Regions from separate parts of the Homo sapiens genome. Here regions 2 and 3 are each linked to region 1. Evidence: promoter capture Hi-C in 16 types of primary human blood cells and fetal thymus (Javierre and others, 2016). All regions are on one chromosome and are shown on one strand. Each heading gives the region's core, a stretch centred on a gene start or on the middle of the fragment in contact. The rest is flanking DNA. Distances are from core to core; before and after follow the strand shown.

The links. The method cuts DNA at HindIII sites, captures the fragments that hold promoters and counts their contacts. A CHiCAGO score of 5 or more calls a contact.
Region 2: the fragment with the promoter of MCEE here is called in contact with the fragment with the promoter of GFPT1 in region 1 in 2 of 17 cell types (non-activated CD4 T cells and naive CD8 T cells); the score reaches 9.5 in non-activated CD4 T cells.
Region 3: a contact is called between the fragment with the promoter of PAIP2B here and the fragment with the promoter of GFPT1 in region 1, in 1 of 17 cell types (naive CD4 T cells). The highest score is 5.2, in naive CD4 T cells.

The regions. Positions count from the first base shown.
Region 1 is chr2:69,385,390-69,389,639 of GRCh38, forward strand. It overlaps GFPT1 (glutamine--fructose-6-phosphate transaminase 1), which reads right to left and starts at 1,838. Exons shown (of 20, transcript NM_001244710.2): 1 at 1,676-1,838. The coding sequence starts at 1,682. RefSeq lists silencers at 1,418-2,087, 2,148-2,257 and an enhancer at 1,630-2,189. The HindIII fragment of the contact is 6,543 bases long and covers 1-4,250 here.
Region 2 is chr2:71,128,189-71,132,386 of GRCh38, forward strand. MCEE (methylmalonyl-CoA epimerase) reads right to left here and starts at 2,041. Exons shown (of 3, transcript NM_032601.4): 1 at 1,992-2,041. The coding sequence starts at 2,031. It overlaps MPHOSPH10 (M-phase phosphoprotein 10), which reads left to right and starts at 2,446. Exons shown (of 11, transcript NM_005791.3): 1 at 2,446-2,566. The coding sequence starts at 2,478. RefSeq lists enhancers at 1,264-2,122, 2,444-2,493, 2,594-2,643. The HindIII fragment of the contact is 1,939 bases long and covers 871-2,809 here.
Region 3 is chr2:71,225,563-71,229,834 of GRCh38, forward strand. It overlaps PAIP2B (poly(A) binding protein interacting protein 2B), which reads right to left and starts at 1,541. Exons shown (of 4, transcript NM_020459.1): 1 at 1,366-1,541. RefSeq lists enhancers at 971-1,471, 1,687-1,826. The HindIII fragment of the contact is 3,788 bases long and covers 1-3,618 here.

The DNA.
Region 1 (4,250 bases), core at 588-3,087:
TAATTTTGTATTTTTAGTAGACATGGAGTTTCACCACGTTGGCCAGGCTAGTCTTGAACTCCTGAGCTCAGGTGATCCACCTGCCTCGGCCTCCCAAAGTGCTGAGATTATAGGCGGGAGCCACCACGCCCAGCGCTGATTTATTTATTTATTTATTTTTTTTTCAGTAAGTACTTTGACTACGTTTTTTTCTTGGAACATGATGAAATGACCTGCAACCAGAATGTTGAGTACTTGATGAGGCACACCCCTCATCATTCAGGAACAGTTAACTACCAAATGAAGCACACTGGAGATTGACCAGTTTGCAAATTCACTACTTCACAGCTCCAAACTAAATGCAAAACCATTCTACTAAGTAGACACTGCAAAAGTCTGATTCTGAAGTCAGCTCTACTCTAATAATTTCAGTAAGCTATTTATAGGTGTTTCTGTTTTTATGTGGGTTTTTTTTTAATCTACTCTAAATTTAAACCTGCTCCTCATTTTCAGAAGCTGAAATGAGCATAAAGTTAAATACAGGAAATATATACACTAACGAGTACAATCCACCTCCTGTTCAGTTCCTTCGTGTAAAAGGCTGCAAATAAGAAGTCTCCCAGAGAGTTTTCAATTCTCTTACAATGGTACTTCCCTTTAAAAAAAAAAAAAAAAAGTGTACTTTCTTCCAGGGATAAAGTCGGTTGTAAATTTCAATAAGAAAGGTAAGAATACAATTATTTTTACTGGCAATAGCCAAATTAACACCAATTTTAGAAGATATCAGTCATGTCAGACACGATTCTCAAAGTCTCTTTCACTAACACTTAGGTCATAATAAACGACTCTCAAAACATGGAATAAAAGGGCCTAACCTTAATTTTTTAAGGCTCTAGGAAAGATATTTGCTCAACTTTCCATAGCTAGTATTTTTAATGGATGCACATGCAAGGGATAAATGATATTTTTCATAGTTGGTATTCTAAAGGGGTATACATCCAAGGTATAACTGATATTTTTCAGAGCTGGCATTTTTAATGGGTGCACACGCAAATGATAAATTATGTATAACCTATCGCCACAGACATTTGAAGGCCTCTTCCACCAGAGGATCAGGTCTAAGCCCATGAACCAAGTTATTGATTAGCAATGGTTTCTGTTGAGACAAGGGATGGCAGGAAGTATCACGTTTAATGGCACTACCGTGGCTCTAGCTAGGGTCTGTTTTCTATTGGGCCTCCCCAGAAACAAGTAAAATATTTTTTTAAAGATTTTTAGAAAAATGCAAGGTAAGTTCAAGAGACCTCGCCCGAGGTTCCACAGGTTTCCTCACTCACCTGGTGGGCCCTTTTGAAGGCAACCCCCTCCACACCTCAATTCCCTCAGCTCTCTCCTCCTTTTTCAATAAAGGCGTTTCTCTCCCCTTTCGGTTCCTTCTCCGCGCCAAGGCGCCCGCTAGCCCCCGGCAAAGGGGGCCCGCCTTCCTCTCAGGTGCCTTTCTCCCGGCCGCCACCCCCTCTCCCGCCCGTGGATGCCGGCCCCCGCCCCCGCAGCCACCACTGGGCGCCCCTTGCCCATCACCCAGACTTCGCACCCTCCACACTCCCGCTTCCGCCCGTCGCCTTGGGCCTTAGCGGCACCCGCACCGCACCCCAGCGCCACCCGGCAACACGCCCCCCGCTCCCGGCCCCCTTACCACACATGATGCCGGAGACACGGCCCGCGAGGCCAGGGGCGAGTGGCTGGCGGGATCGGGGGTGCACACACGAGCTTCGGTGGGCAATCTGCGGGCTCGGGGGCCGGGGTGGCGCCGACACGACTCCCTCGGGGATGCGACGGCCAAGGCAACGACAGCCTTCTCCGCCTCCCGGGCTCCGCCAGCAACCGCCGCCGGGCCCCGCCCCTCGGCGCGCAGCGCGCCGCCGCCCGTAGGCTCCATTGAACCGCTCACGCGCCGCTCACGCGCAAGTCCCGCCTCCCAGCGCTGCCCCGCCCCCCGAGCCCACGCAGGCGCTGGACTGCTGGCGGCGGCGACGTGGCAGTGGCTCGTGGCCGCGTCCGCCTGGAGTTCCTGGAGACGCCCGCCCCGGGGCGAGCCGCGGGAGGGACCGAGCCGAGAGGGAGGGAGAAACTCAGCACCTGGCAGGGAATGACGGAAAGAGAAGGATGGAATTGTTAGCAAAGCAATAGCCCGGGTGCGTGCCCCGTGCAGCCCCAGGCCCCAGGCGCCAGCACTGCACGAAGCGAGGAAAGAGGAGGAAAAAAGCAGGAAGTATGAAAAGGGAATCCTGGGGAACATAAGGCTGAAAAAAATTGCAAAGAATTAGGTTGAGGTGGGAGGAGAGAGATAACAAAATTCTTGACTGTAAAGCCCCAAAGGTCAGCCTCTCTGGTAATAAGCAATTCAATTCCTTGTGTAATATGCTTGGCCCCTAAAAGCCCTCCGCATCCGTTGCCTCCATAACCCTCAGTTTATTGTGGAGGGGTAGAGGAGGAATGTAAGGCTCAACTATCCGACTATGAGCCTGGACGTAAGAAACTGCTGGCCCACCTCCTCCCATGACCCACCTGAGACGGCTAGGAATTCCCTAGCTTTAACAGCCGCGCGTTTGACTTACGAACGATTCATTCTATGAATTAATGCGCCATGTCTGACAAGAGAGACTTGATTAGAGAGGGATGATGTTTCTGAGAATTTATTACCTGGGCATTTGCTTTAAACAGCCTTAAATGGTATCTTTAGTCAAATGTGGAGTAATCAGAACTCTATAATGGCTCTAGAGTAGAGTAGTATCAAAAACGTACATGGCACACAGAATTCCTGGAGTGCTGACTGCTGTTCATGTGTCTGGTCTTAGCCTGCTGACTGCTGTTCATGTGTCTGGTCTTAGCCGTCCTTCCAGCCCTATACACTCCCAACAGGCTCAACAGGTAGTTCCTCAACTGGGCCAAGATTCTCAAATCTTTTGCACACTTTGGTTACTCTGCATAGAATCCCCACCACGTCTCTGTTTAGATGCTACCTCTTCAGGAAAGCCTTTTTTATCCCCCCTAGACAGACTTGGAGACATGCATTAACCTCTTACTCTTTGAGCTACTCACTGTAAAGAAATATTCTTTGATATTTTATGATTTTCTGTATTTTCCCACTGGGCTGTAAGTTTCTTGAAGCTAGAACTAGATTTTACATACCCAACACTTTTAGACCACAGCACAAAGTAAAAGATCAAATTTATTTTGGAATGAGTGAAAAAAAGTCCTATTTTCTTAGCGGAATTAACCTTCTATGGCTGGTTATATGATTAAGTGAGCATAAGGCTTTCAGTTCTTCTTACGGGGAAAAGTGCCTTTTTTCACTTGCCTCAGAGAAGCTGAAAAATGTCACATTTAACTAAGCAGAGTATTTCTCACCTAAAAGCCCTTTTGATATTTCAATCCCTTAAACAGGTCCCTGGATCACCCAGAGCAAAGTTTAAAAAAAAAAAAAACAGTGAGCTTTTTGGTAATAATACATTTCTTAATTCAAGAAACAAAAGACTGTGGATATACATCTAGCCTCAGAACCCTCATCTAAGGCTCTGGTTAGAACTCCGTTGTATTACCTAAAAGCCAAGGTATGGTTCCAATGCTTAAGCAACATCTTTGTGCACTGGCAGCAAACCTGTCAATGCCACAAAGAAAATGTCAGCAGTACTACCAGAGTTCTCATGCTCCAACTATAGTAATCTATTTAACCCTTTGCTTTCTTCTTCTGCCTGCTACTCCACCACAATGACTATCAATTTGTCTTATCCATCTCCACTCAACAAACTATTTTGGAAGATATTTATGAATCAGTTGAGAAGAAGAAACTAGTGTTACAGGTCTTTTAGAATTTGTCTAAATACAAATTTTTAAAAGTTTTCAGTAAAGACTGGAAAGTCCCCAACTCAGAAAAAAAAAAAAAAGTTAAAAAAAAAGTAAATAAAAAAATAATTTGACAAAAAAGAGAAGAAACTTTGAAGGACAGTATTTTCCCAAATCAGCCTTGAAGAACCTCACTAACCCAACACAACAAAGAACTCTTTGTAACCATGCGCCAGTTAAGATACACACTTTGGGTGCCTGACCTCCCTTTATACAGAGCTCCGCCTTAACTGGACCTTTGGGAATAAGGCCTGAAGGAGAAGAAAATAAATGATCTATGAAGGGAAGGGGACATCTGGGTCTAATTCAAACAAATGAGGGAATGGATTTTCTCTCCTGATCAAAACATTCTGAACGACAACAAA
Region 2 (4,198 bases), core at 791-3,290, 1.7 Mb after region 1:
AAGTTGGTCATTCTTGTCTCCCACCTAACAGGTTCAATTTCCATTTTCAGAACTTTTCTACGTGTTCACTCTGATTTTTCTGTGCTTTTGTTTTTCGGCGAAGTTTTATGTTCCTTAAAAGAGGGGCCATAACATAGAATTACCATGTAATCCAGCAATTCCACTTATGAGTATACACACCCCCAAAGAAGCGGGAATTCAGAAGTATTTGTACACCCACGTTCATAGCTGTATTACAATAGCCAAAAGGTGGGGATAACCCAAATGTCTATCAAGAGACGAATGGATAAACAAAATGTGGTATACACACACAATGGAATATTATTCAGTCTTAAAAAGCAATTTTTTTTTTTTTTCTGAGACGGAGTTTCGCTTTGGTTGCCCAGGCTGGAGTGCAGTGGCGCGATCTTGGCTCACGCCAACCTCCGCCTCCCGGGTTCAAGCGATTATCCTGCCTCAGCCTCCCGAGTACCCGGGATAACAGGCGTGTGCTACCACGCCCGGCTAATTTTTGTATTTTTAGTAGAGACGGGCTCACGCCTGTAATCCCAGCACTTTGGGAAGACGAGGTGGGCAGATCACCTGAGGCCAGGAGTTCCAAACCAGCCTGGCCAACATGGTGAAATCTCGTCTCCACTAAAAATGCAAAAAATTAGCCGGGCGTGGTGCCGGGTGCCTGTAATCCCAGCTACTCGGGAGGCTGAGGCGGAAGAATGGCTTGAACCTGGGAGGCAGAGGTTGCAGTGAGCTAACGCCACTGCACTCCAGCCTGGGCGACAGAGTGAGACTCTGTCTCAAAAAAAAAAAAAAAGGTAAATTTTACTTTATGTATATTCAACCACACACACACACACACAAGTGGAGACATTAAGCTTCAAGTATCTTAATAGGACAAATCAAAGGCAATCTTTGGAATACACTGTCTTCATTTTTCCTTTATGCCAAGATGTGTATGTAAGTACAAAACAAACATGCACCTTTATCTGTATTGAGTTCTTGCAGTATGTATATGACCTGTTGGAAGTCATACTTTTTCCCAAACTGTCAATCATTAAAGTGTGCAGTTCTAAAAATAGACATAAAAATGCCTTTTCCCAAATATTCATTTATTTATAGTTTTACGTTCCTATCTTGTGTATCACCTAAGAGGAAGGTATGCCTTACGGTTAAGAATGTGGGCTCTGGTGCTAGAAGGATTTATCACGAATGTCCCGGAGTAACTCTGGGGCATTACCACTTGGCACCTTCTTCCTAATAGGGAATCTCAGATTAAGGGAAATACTTGCCCTCTCATAAAAGGAGGAAGAGAAAAAAAAAAAGGATAAAAAGAGGAGAAAGTGAGTCAGAAAACGTGACAATTATTACAGTTATTTCTGTCATAACTGATTCTATGTACATATTTTAAAAAAAATGAAGGGGGAGAGAACTCAAGAAAGTTTCCAAATCCACATGCTTTTATCTGTGTACGCGATAAATATATTAGTGCACGTGGAAAAACCACTCCTTTTGTATTCTTTACACCACTGACCTTTGAGTGTTCCCAACAGAAAGCTGGTCACGCTTGGAGTTCGGCCGACTAGTAGTTGTTGTTTTTACGGAACGTGCTCTCCTTTCTGGTTTCTCCCCAGTCTCTTTATTGGTGCGCGGTAAAATAACTTACCGATCCGCTTCTATTTACTTCTGTCCCTGCCCTGCCTGACCTGCCGGGCAAGTTCCCTCGACTCTCCCGCCCACATACTGGAAGGTGCAGAGCCCAAGGCGCACAGCTCTCGGATGGAAATGGGACTCATGCACAAGGCAATCCCCGCTACTAAGCGGTGGCGCTTCTGGAAGGCACCCTCTGCCTAAGTGACAGCAGCTGCTGTGGAACGCGCCCCCGGGGGAGGACATTAGATCAAGGTGCTTTGGCCACGCCGAGGCCTCCTCCGCCCCCGACCGCCGTTCCCACGCTCCCTGTCCCATGGCGAAGGTCGCCGGTGCCCGGTATTCACCTACGGCATTCGCGGCTGCAGCCTTCAGCACCCGCGCCATTTTGGAAAGCAACCCGCCACGTCAAGACTAGCCACGGAGGTTGAGAGACGCGCGGCAGAGGGCGGGGCGGGAGGCAGAGGGGGCGGGGACAGAAAGGTCAGGGGCGTGGCGAAGGTCGCTGCTTTCCTGCTACAACGGGCCTACTTTAGCTAAAACAGAAACGTAAGGCCAGGACGGGTCACCCTTTGTGGGCCCCTGAAAAATACAAAACGAAGTTTGGAGAGAGTTGAAAGGCGTTTGGGCTGACCATGGAGATTTTTGTTTCCCACCCTCCTGCGAAAGCGCTCGCGCTGCCATTGGCTCTGGCTGAGGGCGAGTCCGGAACCTGTGCGCCGCGGAACTTTCGGCTCTGAAATCCAAGTTGCGCTGGGCGCATCTTTGCCGCGCGGTTTCCGGGCGGCTCCCTTCCCTTGCATGCTGCATTGTGTCGGGAGTTGCTGACAGCCATGGCGCCGCAGGTCTGGCGTCGACGGACCCTGGAGCGGTGTCTGACGGAAGTCGGCAAAGCCACGGGTCGGCCCGAGTGCTTCCTCACGTAAGTGCGCAGATCCCGGGCTCGGGGTGCGACCGGGGTCTCACGTGGACGCGGGTTGCAGGCCTCCGGCAAATTGTGGAGCTGGGGGAAGGTAAGGGGAAACGTAAAATCGCTTTTCCCCAAATTTCAGAGTTTATGCTTTCCTAGGCTATCAAAATTTTAAAAACTGTTAAAATTTGTATAGATGGATCTCTCAGTTGAGTGTTACTGAAATCACTCTAACCTCAATTGTTAACACCTAGAAGCTTCCCTTGGGCTTCTTACGCCCCCATCCCTCTACACACAGACTGTTGGTTTCTCCTTCCTCCTATGTGCTCTCAAAGCACTTAGCGCTTAGCATACTTTATTGAAAGTACGAACTTGTCACTTGTCTGTCCACCCCCCATGACTAAGCTTCTTCAGAAATAGAACTTCCATGTCTCTTCCCAACACAAGCGTTTTATATGTATTTTGTTGAAGAATTTAAAATGTGATCTATGAAATTATTACTCATTTATGTTTCAAACCCCAACCTTTCCCTGAGTTCCCAGCTCACAGCAACTACAGACTGAGCTTAGTTTGAATTCCGTAGCACACAACTGGGATATCCACACTGTACAACTTTTAACGATTTTTAAAATTTTGGTACTGTCAAGCATCTCAAATTCACTGCGTCCAAAATAGAGCTGTTGTGTCTGTTTAATAGAATTGTTGTTTCTACCCACCTATACTCTGCCATCCCCTGAAGTCCTTTTCCCATGCTACACCTGTCAAGCGCGTCTGTGTGAAGAGACCACTAAAACAGGCTTTGTGTGAGCCACAAGGCTGTTTATTCACTTGGGTGCAAGTGGGCTGAGTCCGAAAAGAGAGTCAACTAATGGTGATGGGGAAGGGGTTGCTTTATAGGAGTTGGGTAGGTAATGGAAAATTACAGTAAAAGGTGGTTATCTATTAGCAGAGGAGGACGGGGTCACAAGGTACATGGTGGGGAGATCATAAGACTTATTGTCCAGAAGAAGAATGTCACAAGGTCGATTGATCAGTTAAGGTAGGGCAGGGACAAGTCACAATGGAGGAATGTTGTAATGTTGATTAATCAATTAAGGCAGGAACTGGCTGTTTTATTTCTTTTGTGGTTTTTCGGCTGCCCCAGACTTCTTGGCTCCTGCAGGCCATCTGGACATATATGTGCAGGTCACAGGGGTTACAATGGCTGAGCTTCAGCTCAGAGGCCTGACACCACCACCCAAGCCTTCCCTATCTCAGTAAATGGCACTTCTGTCTTTTCAGGTACTCAAACATAAAACTAGGCTGCTACTTTAATGTCTTCATTTTTCTCTATTCTATATCTAATTCTTTAGCAATCCTGTCAGTTCTACCTCCAAACTATACTCAGCATATTCACTGCTCTAACTCCAGTCTAAATCACCATTATCCTTTCGCTGGAATGCTGCATCAACCTTCTAATCACTGTACTTTCCTCCTCCTCCCTCGTCCCTTTCTCCTTCCTTCGTGTAAATCATCATTTCATCCCTCTGCTTAAAATGTTTTCTCTTTACACTTTAAATGACAAATTCTTACTCCTGAACCATGCATAATTTGGCTCCCATCAGTCTCTCCAGCTTCACCCTCTGCCTCCTTCACACTCTAGCC
Region 3 (4,272 bases), core at 291-2,790, 1.8 Mb after region 1:
ACAAGTAGCCAGAGGAGCCTATCAGTCTTACCCCAACACTTCAATCTCCTCCAACCTTCAAAATAAAACCCTCACTGTCCAATATCTGAATTTATATTTTCAAACGTCTAAAATCTTAATCAAAGCTAAGAGCAGTGCATTAGCTTTTCCCCATAAAATTGTTGGCATAATTTTACTTAGGCACAGCATAGTTTGTACTGTTATCAAAAAACATATGGCTAGAACCGACATTACTAGAAACCAAACGAATATACTATGAAGGTGAAAAGGGAACAGGGAATGTTGTTTTTGGACAGATTCAATGCTGTTATTATCCCTTCATAGGTTGGGTGTGATCGAATCACACTGTGCTGTACAACTAAGTATGTTCTATATTTTATGACAAAGTAGGGTAGCCAGGCCCTTACACTACAAACTCCCAGAAACCCCAGTTAAGCTGTTTAAAGTATAATCCAATTCAATTTACTGAAAATAATAGTAACAAAATTTAAATCCCTTGCTTCTAGTTAGCCCTTTTCAACTGCATTTTCAGCAATTACCACCAAAAGAACTGCATTAGGACAAAGATTCTAGAGCGGGTATAATGGTCAAATGCCATTTGAAGGCAAAAACAGTCTACCAGGAACAAAACATTAAAGTTCCCAACCTTGCCAAACTCCCTGTTCTGCGTATTCTGCCTCTCTCAGTTCACCTTCCAGCTGCCTGGAAGAGGCAAGTGGAAAATGTTAGTTTTCTGGAGAGATGAGAATGGAATTTAGGGGTTGGTAGGGGGTGATGGGCTCACTCACGGACCGCAAGGCACAAGAGAAGTGGCGAACGTCTCCCAGGCAAATGAGGCATGAAGAATGAGGGCTGGAGTCAAGGGGGAGATGGAGCAAGTATAAAAAGGCAGAGGACGCGCAGGGGCCGCGAATAGGGGAAGGGCACGACGCGCAATCCCTCCCGCTCCAGCCCGGGGAGAGGGGCGGGGGATGCCGCGCGGGTCAATTTGCCTAGCATTGTTGCACCTGGGTAGAAATGGGACTCAGGCCAAGAATTCGGTTCGAGTGTTAGGAGGACGCTGAGGGGAGTCAGGAACTTGGGTGGGAGTCGGGGGGAAACAGAGCACCTGTGCGGGGGGGAAAGGGACGAAAACCCCCTATTGCTCCCGAGGGGCAGGGGCTGACCCCAGCGGACGCCCCTTTTCGCCGATGGCCGCGACGTGGGACCCCGCGCGCTTTCCCTCCCTACAGGAGCTCGGGCAGGCGCGTGCCGCCCTTCACAGCCCCGACGGCGGCAGAAAGGGAGGCGCAGGGCGCCCCCAGAGCCGGGAGAACGGCGTTTCCCTCGAGTCCTTTCCCCAGCAGCCCGGGCACCCGAGCCCACCTGGGCTAACCAGAAGCCCCTCCTTCAGATCGTACTCTGCCACTCCTCCGAGAGCTTAAGCCGTTGCCGTAGAGGTCGCCGTCGCCACAACAGTCTCGGCCTTTAGTACCAAAACGTGAAGCACAGCACCCGAGAAGCGCCACTACCACTTGCCAGGTTATCTCTTACTGCACACTGCCTCCTCGCCCCGCCCCCGAACCCAAGCCATTGGTTGCCGGGCACCGCCCCATTCGTCTATTGGGCCAAAGAAGATGCCGTTCGGTCACCTAGAATGGCATATGTGGTTTTTATTGGTCTAAATGTGAAGCAGTGCCCGCCCACTCCCTCAGAAGTTTCAGCTTCTGATTGGTTTTAATGTCTGTCTTTTCTCTTCCTTCATTTTTTTTTTCCTGTGGTGGAACACCTCCTTGAGGGAGATGCCGGCTCTGATTGGCTGAAAGGACGCTACGCTAGCCTGGGATAGGCATTGGGCCAAGGATGCGCCCGGCCCACTCGTGGGGGAGGAGACCAAGGCGCCGCACTCTGGGTTTGTTTACACAGGCTCTTGCTCCCGCTTCGTCTATTGGCTGAGCTGGAAGCCACTGCCACCGAGTTTTGCCTGTCAGCCTAGCAAGGAGGAGGGTGGGGGTGGGCCTCAGTAGGATTTCCCTCAGCTGTCAATTACCAAAGGAGGAGCTTTGATTCAGGCTGCTTTGGACCTGGTGCTATTCTCTGTAGGGAAAATTAAGGAATTGGGCTCCTTGGGAGGCTGGAAGGAAGCAAAGGGACGCTGGAAGGAAGCAGACGGATGCTTCCACGTTTCTAGAAACAAACCTAACTTCTTGAGTGCTTTAAAAAAATAAAACTTGGCCGGGCGCGGTGGCTCACGCCTGTAATCCCACCACTCTGGGAGGCCGAGACGGGCGGATCACAAGGTCAGGAGTTCTAGACCAGCCTCGCCAGTATGGTGAAACCCCGTCTCTACTAAAAATGCAAAAATTAGCTGGGCGTGGTGGCGGGCTCCTGTAGTCCCAGCTACTCGGGAGGCTGAGGCAGGAGAATCACTTGAACCCGGGAGGCAGAGGTTGCAGTGAGCCAAGATCGCACCACTGCACTCCAATCTGGGCAATAGAGTGAGGTTGCGACTCAAAAAAAAATACATCAATAAATACAAATTAAAATAAAACTTTATTGCCTCCCTTGGATTTAGAATGTCCAATCTGCTTGCAAAGGACTTCGAATTGTATTCCACAGGAAGTAGGGATTTCTTTGTGGAGCTCTTACTTTATACATTTTTCTCTCCCCCCCACCTCTCAAGCTGACTGTATACATGACACAAAGTTAGGGAATTGCAGAATGAATGGAAAAAATATAAAAATGAAAAAGATAAACTCAAATAACAATTATAAATATTAGCTGTATACTTTGATATGGTTTGGCTCTGTGTCCCCACCCAAATCTCATTTTGAATTATAATTCCCAATGTTGGGGGAGGGACTTGGTGGGAGGCGATTGGATCATGGGGGCAGATTTCCCCCTTGCTGTTCTCGTGATAGTGAGTGAGTTCTCACAAGGTCTGATGGTAAAAAAAGTGTGTGTCCTTCCCCCTTAGCTCTCTCTCCCTCTTGCTACCATGTGAAAACGTGCTTGCTTCCCCTTTGCCCTGATTGTAAGTTTCCTGAGGCCTCACCAGCCATGCCTCCTGTACAGCCTGAGGAACGGTGAGTCAATTAAACCTCTTTTCTTTATAAATTACTCAGTCTCAGGTAGTTCTTTATAGCAATGTGAGAATGGACTAATACATACTTCATATTAAATGATATAAGTAAATAAATAAATTCATTCAACAAGTATTATTTAGCATCTACTATGAATGTTCTAGGCTCTGATCATGGAACTGGGTATATGATATGAATAAGACAGTGAAGATGCACCCATGGTGTTTATACTGTAGTGAAGGAGACTGACAACAGAAAAGTAACCAATAAATAATAAAATGGTATGTTGTGAATAAATGCTACAAAGGAAAATAAAGCAGAGTCATGGGATGGTTGGGGAAATGGCTATTTTAAGTAGGATGGTTAGTTTAAGAGCTGTTTGAGGAAACAGCACTGAACAGAGATGTGAATAATGTGAAGAAGTGAAGAGTGGGAAGGGGCTAATAAGCAGAGCCACTACAGTGCACAACTCCAGGATCACTATTCACATTGCTCCATGTATTTTGAAGTTGTGTATTAGGTGTACATCCATTTAGGGCTGCCAACTCTGGTTTAAAGCTTTATTTGATTACATAATTTAAATGACGCCTGCAAGAAACATGTGTCTTTTAGAAAAAAAAAAATCTCTCTCTAGGATAGCATCCCCATACCCTCCACTGCTTCTTTCCCTGAATTGGCCTTCCGGTGTATGATGAGAGAAAGTTTACACAATCTCATAGGTTTGAAAAACAGGCTCTTCTGGTCCACGTGGTGTCCTTGAGCAGTCAGAAATACTCCTTGAGGATGAACCTTTATTACCAGGATAGCAATGGGATGTAAGGAAGGGTTGATGAACTTCTCTCGTCTCACTTCCTACCACTGGTGCCATCTATTATAAATTCATGGCTGGCTATTACCAGTGATAAAGAGAAAAGTCTTAAAAGCAGGCAGAAAAAAAATATGGCCATTTTAAGTAGAATGGTTAGTTTAAGAGCTGTTTGAGGAAAGACCATTGAACAGAGATGTGAAGAAGTGAAGAGCAGGAAGGGGCTGGGAAACATACAGAGGGGAAAAAATAGATAAGAATTACAGCAAATTTCTTATCAGAAACTATGGAAGCCAAAAGACAATGAAGGAATGAGGTAGCAATGTGGGTATCTGGTGGTGGTGGGCAGGGACAGATATGAGACAAAAACCAGTCATAAAGTTGTAGGAGATGATGTCAATGAGA